2 separate regions of the Homo sapiens genome follow, and region 2 is linked to region 1. Evidence: promoter capture Hi-C in 16 types of primary human blood cells and fetal thymus (Javierre and others, 2016). All regions are on one chromosome and are shown on one strand. Each heading gives the region's core, a stretch centred on a gene start or on the middle of the fragment in contact. The rest is flanking DNA. Distances are from core to core; before and after follow the strand shown. Region 1 overlaps NF1 (neurofibromin 1). Region 2 holds the start of EVI2B (ecotropic viral integration site 2B).

Evidence for each region. Contacts are between HindIII fragments. The CHiCAGO score rates a contact against its expected background, and 5 or more counts as called.
Region 2: the fragment with the promoter of EVI2B here is called in contact with a fragment that was not itself captured in region 1 in 1 of 17 cell types (naive CD4 T cells); the score reaches 5.9 in naive CD4 T cells.

The regions. Positions count from the first base shown.
Region 1 is chr17:31,367,180-31,370,220 of GRCh38, forward strand. The region is part of intron 57 of NF1 (neurofibromin 1); the gene reads left to right. Among named protein-coding and RNA genes, the nearest start is that of RAB11FIP4, 23 kb to the right of the region's middle. The HindIII fragment of the contact is 3,017 bases long and covers 44-3,041 here.
Region 2 is chr17:31,312,359-31,315,790 of GRCh38, forward strand. It overlaps EVI2B (ecotropic viral integration site 2B), which reads right to left and starts at 1,696. Exons shown (of 2, transcript NM_006495.4): 1 at 1,621-1,696. The region is part of intron 36 of NF1 (neurofibromin 1); the gene reads left to right. The HindIII fragment of the contact is 2,631 bases long and covers 694-3,324 here.

The DNA.
Region 1 (3,041 bases), core at 302-2,801:
ATGAACATCACTTACTTGCTTTTTTTTCTTCCATTCTTTGTAAAGCTTCTCTGCCTTGCTCTAAATCAGCAGTTTTCATGCAGCTGTTCCCTCATCAAGGTACTCTTTATTTTCATCATCTTTGCACGAAAATACTGCTTACCCCACACTCATCCTGGGCACATAGCATGAGACTTTACTCACCGGTCCCTGTAAGCTCAGTCTGCCTTAGGCACTTTAGGAACTTGTAAAGCCACCACTTTATAAGGTCTTGGTACTTAACAGGAATTGCACGGCCAGTGTGTGGCCTGTCTTGTTTAAGGAGCTGCTAATACCCACCCAGAACAATGAAGATGCAATCCCATACCTGGACTAACAAAGGCAGGTTAATAAGAAACTCAAGAGAGAGTTAATAGAGAAAGAGCAGAATACGTGGTTTGATGAAGTTTTTTTAGCTTAGAAAATAACTTGTTTTCCCCAAATAGAAAGCCAACCCCAGTGTTTCCTCAGAAATTAAAGCTGGCTGTCTATTCAATCACCTGTGGTTAAAAAAAGGAATATGGCCAGGTGCGATGGCTCACGCCTATAATCACAGCACTTTGGGAGGCCAAGGTGGGCGGATCACTTGAGTCCAGGAGTTGAAAACCAGCCTGGGTAACGTGGCAAAACCCTCTTTCTACAAAAAATACAAAAAGCTATTCACAGGACTGAGGTGGGGAGGTTGAGGCTTTGGTGAGCTGAGATCGCACCACCGCACTCCAGCCTGAGTGACAGAGCAATACTCTGTCTCACAAAAAAATTAAAAAAAAAAAATATATGGTCATTAGTTAGCTATAAGGACTAAGATGAAAAAATTTGACACATTTATGTCTAATTTATAAAAGATGCCTTTTCTTTTATTCACCTGTAATTAATATACAAAAAGATTACACCTAAACAGAAAAAGAAGTGCTAGCAGTTGGTGAACGTCATTTTTAAAAATTCTTTTTTCTTTTTGAGACGGAGTCTCTCTCTGTTGCCCAGGCTGGAGTACAGTGGTGTGATCTCAGCTTACTGCAACCTCCGCCTCCCCAGTTCAAGCGATTCTCCTGCCTCAGCCTCCTGAGTAGCTGGAATTACAGGCATGTTCCACCAAGCCTGGCTAATTTTTTTTGTATTTTCAGTAGAGACGAGGTTTCACCATTTTGGCCAGGCTGGTCTCGAACTCCTGACCTCAAAGATCTGCCTGCCTTGGCCTCCCAAAATGTTAGGATTACAGGCATGAGCCACAATACCAAGCCAAAAATTCTTATAGTTACAATTTTTTATATTTAGCTCAAAATAAAAATATTTCTAAGTATATATTTAATACGCCTCCATGAATGTATTTACTGTAGCTTAAAAATAGGCTGTAGCTACCTAAGAAGATTTATTCTATTTTGTGCTTATTTATATTAGCTTCACTCATTTTACAAATTCTAGCATAAAATTAAAGTCCTAGTATTTGTTCTAAAACTCCTTTGTATCACCTGGTCTTTTACTTCAGATATTAGGAGCATCTTAATTTGTGGAGTAATTATTTTATCTGTGTGCAAAAATTCTTCACATAGATTATTTTGTCTAACAACCCTTTGAAATAGACAAGTCTGCTGTTATCCTTAATTGCCAGATTAAGAATTACAACTAAATAAGAATATTGATCCAAACAAGTCTCAAACCTAGGTCTTCTGACATGTTTAAGTTCTCCTGTATGTAATAAGAGTTTTCTAATAAGTTTGCCATATTGTATATGAAATAAACTAAATGCAGAGTAAGGTAACCTACTAGTGCTCCTGCACAGGTGGCAGGAGATTTCAGTTTTTATTAGTCTGTCATTTTTGTAGTATAACTTCTCACAAATTACCTAACCCATTTTTCCTTAGCTTTTCAAGAGTTAAAAGCGATTCTGTTGTTTTATTATTTCATGATACTATTATAACTGATTATTTCAGTTTGGGAAACCAAAAGTGTTTTTTAAAAATGAGTGACTAAAAAATTGTCAGGCTGGAGCTACATCACTAGTTGTAAAAATACACAAACCTTGATACCTGCCTTCAAGGAACTCATGTTCTAGCAGGGAAGATAGACATCTAACTTAAATAACAATAATGTAATCTAATCCTTTTCCCCAGCTACTCAAATTCACTGAATTTTGGCCAATAACACCTTCTAGTTAGGATTTTGTCTTTATCTGGAACCACCACAATTTATTGAAACATAGTACTGCTGATATACTGCTGTACAGAATGTCCAGCTGTTTCTGCTCTGCATGTTTGTAATTGGCTGCATGTTTGACCACAGCATATCTGTGGGGTCATTTAAGCTGGCAAATCAGGACCACAGAAGTTTTAGCTTTATTTCCTTTGTGTGGTAGCCTCTGGGTTTCTGTCAGTCACTTTGTAGTTTTGTCTGTTTGTTGTCCACCAAAGGCCAGAAAGGAGAGCCAATGCTTTAGGGGCAAAAGAGATACCAGAATACAAAACTTTAAAGGGGTTTTGATGAAAAGAAGTGCAGCACCAAGGCCTTCTCACTAACTTAAAATATGGCATATAGCAATACAGGATGTGTTCTGTCTGCATTGGAGTGGTCTATCAGATAATCTGAGAGTTTTTCCTATGGGATATTGAGGTGAAATCCTTCACCAGTTCCTAGAGAGATTTCTAGATTTAATTTTAGAGGATAAAAAGAAAGAATGCTGCCAAAATTCTTAGAAGTGAGAATTATGCTGAGAAACTTAAATGCCAGAACTAGATACTATGATCATTCTGTTTCATACTACCTTGGCTTTTTCAAGATATATTTTGGTGTAAACGTAATGCATTTTAATTGTTTTTTTTTAATGACTTTCCAAGATTTTTGTTAGTTTCTCCTTTGATCCTTACAGTAAAACATCTTTGCTGTGAAGTTGAACTTAGGAATCACAGTCACACCACATTTACCTATGTGTGATTTATACAGTTGGGTCACTAAGTAGGAAGAAAACATACATTCCAAAAACAAGAATTTAGATGAAAAATGAATTTGAGAAAAGAAGTAGAATATCA
Region 2 (3,432 bases), core at 446-2,945, 55 kb before region 1:
AAATTAGCCAGGCGTGGTGGTGGGTGCCTGTAATCCCAGCTACTCAGGAGGCTGAGGCAGAAGAATCTCTTGACCCTGGGAGGCGGAGGTTGCAGTGAGCCTGTGAGCCAAGATGGTGCCGCTGCACACCAGCCTGGGTGACAGAGGGAGACTCCATCTCAAAAAAAAAAAAAAAAAGTATGGGATTCTATGACAAAAACACACCATAAGGATCGATGGGAAATTTTTTAATTTTATGAAATATGACAGTGAAAAAAATTTAATATAATTTTATGACTTTATGCATAATGAAATAAACTAAATATTAGAAGTAGAAAAATATATAGACAAGCCTAATCTGAAAAAGAGATAAATATCTTTATTTTCTGACTTCCACAGTAATTACTTAGAAGAAATCCTTCTAAGAGAAAGTCATGAATATTTATTAAGTGTTGAAATGGGATATCACCCACTATGAACATATTATTCCCTGAAATTACAAGTCTATGTAAAATACTCTTTGCAGTTTTTATTTGCCCATTTTACCCACAGCAAGCATCTTTTATGCATATTAACAATTTTCTATTGTTTATTCTATAGGTTTCTTCTATCTTATACTATGTTCTAAAGTCTCAGATAATGTGACATAAACACGTAGATGATATTAATATACGCATGCATGTTTGATTATTGACTAACATTTTTGGCTTAGTAAGCTTTTAAAATGAGCCATAATGTTTTCATGTCATCATTATTAAATATAAAATCTATATGTAAAAAATAAAGCATGTATAATAATAATAGTCAAATACCACATCTGATTTCTTTTTCTTTCTAAATTAAGTGAAAGTGACCATTCTTACTATGCAAACTAAAGGGGATACAAAAATTTTAATTTATGCATTATATTATGTACAGGAAAATTCTATAAAAAGTACATTAGAACTTTTAACAATTAATATTTTGGAGGTTATAAATTCAGTCATAGCCTGTGGAATCTAGTTCTATTTCTAACCCTTAGCTTTATCTGCCATGGCTATAGTTTCTTTTTAATTCTAAAACTAAGGTTAACAAATATGATTGTGGCTGGGAGCGGTGGCTCACTCCTGTAATCCCAGCACTTTGGGAGGCGGAGGTAAGCGGATCACCCAAGGTCAGGAGTAGGAGACCAGCCTGGGCAACATAGTGAAACCCCATCTCTACTAAAAATACAAAAAAATTAGCCAGGCGTGGTGGTGGGCGCCTGTAATCCGAGCTACTTGAGAGGCTGAAGCAGGAGAATTGCTTGAACCCAGGAGGTGGAGGTTGCAGTGAGCTGAGATCGTGCCACTGCACTCCAGCCTGGGAGACAGAGCAAGACTCTATCTCAAAAAAAAAAAAAAATATGTGTGTGTGTGTGTGTGTGTGTGTGTGTGTGTGTGAGATTAAATAAACTTAAAAGGTCTTATACAAACCTAGGTGAAAATATTTTTCTAAGGCAAGCTGAACTGAGTATTTTTTAATTCTATGCAACAAAACCACAAAAACCTGTTATAGACATCTTTAGACTATCAGAGTTTAAGTTTAAAACACTAATGACAGTTTTTAAAATAAATTTTATATAAAGCAAGATCAAACCAAATTGTGTGAAAATTTTCTTACCTCAGCTGTTAACTTCTTTTGCAGAATGCTAAATTCTTGTTCTAACTGGACATTTTGGTGATTTGGCTAAGAAAGGAAAATGGGTGGTTCAATTCAGATTTAAAATGTTCCTCTAGCAAACTGAAATAGTTTCTGTAGAAAAAGAGGAAGTTTATCAATAGCTGGTTCCGGAAGTGCAATAAACCACAAAGTGACTAAGAAATATATTACTTTAACAGAACTTATTTTGAAATACATTTTGGAGCCCTATGATTTGAGTGCTTTTAATTATGTAAATAAATATTTGAGATACTCTAGTAATATGATTATGTAAATTAAATATTTAGGATGGAGTCCCGAAGAGAAAATTACATGTTCTAAGAAGAAAAGCTGCCAGTTGGGTTATCACTTACAGTGAGATTTCTTCTCATAAGAAGTGAGTGATGTGTTCTGTTTACTTGTATGACCTTAGGCAAGACTCTGCACTTCTGAGTCACCGTTTCCTCCTCTAAAGGAATATTTTATTGGGTTATTGTGAGGATTAAATAAGATAGCATAATATAACATGTATAAATGCCTCACCAACTGCAGGTAACCAATAAATGTAATGTTATTTCCTCATAATATAAAAAGTCCAGGGTAAAAGTATAATTACATTATTTTGCAAATGACAGGATCTCATTCTTTTTTATGGCTGAATAATACTCCATTGTGTATATGTACCATATTTTCTTTATCCATTCATCTGTTTATAGACACTTAGGTTGCTTCCAAATCTTGGCTGTTGTGAATAGTGTTACAACAAAAGTGGGAGTGCAGATGTCTCTTTGTACAGTTTTCCTTTCTGTTGGGTATATACCTAGCAGTGGGATTGCTGGATCATATGATAGCTCTATTTTTAGTTTTTTGAGGAACCACCAAACTGTTCTCCATAGTGGTTTTACTGATTTACATTCCCACTAACAGCGTACGAGAGTTCCATTTTCTCCACACCCTTCCCAGCACTTGTTATTGCCTGTCTTTTGAGTATAAGCCATTTTAACTGGGGTGAGATGAGGTATCATTGTAGTTTTGATTTGCATTTCTCTCATCAGTGGTGCTGAGTACCCTTTCGTATGCCTGTTTGCCATTTGTATATTTGTAATTAAATTATTTTGACCAAATATTTTACTAGTGACTTTTGAGTTCAAGTTCTCAACTATTTATTTGATTACCCACAAAGTAGTTACTTCTCAGTGGAAAATAAAATAAATTGGGGATCATTTTTTAAATAAGAAGTTAACTAAAGTTAACTTGTTACTAAAGGGTAATGAGGGGTTGGGGAGATGGTGTTACCAGTTAATAGGTACAAAAAACAATAGAAAGAATGAATAAGACCTATTTGATAGCACAACAGAGTGACTGTCATTAATACCATAATTATACATTTTAAAATAACTAAAAGTGTAATTGGATCCTTTGTAACACAAAGGATAAGTGCTTGAAGGGATGGATACCCCATTCTCCATGATGTGATTATTTCACGTTGCGTGACTGTATCAAAACATCTCATTACCCTTTAAATATATACACCTACTATGTACCCACAAAAATTTAAAATACAAAAAATTTTTAAGTTAACTAAACAAAGTGTATTGAAAGGAGTGAGTCCATCTGAATAAAAATTTCTTTGAGTAAGTCACCTTTCCTCTCTTGAAAAATGGAGATCATAATTCCTAATTTATAAGCTTATTGTGGAATTAAATAAATGTAAAGTGCCTTGGATGATGCATATTATAGTAGGTACGGAATGTGTTAACCCATGCACTGCTTTTTCCTGGTCACTGCGGGAAA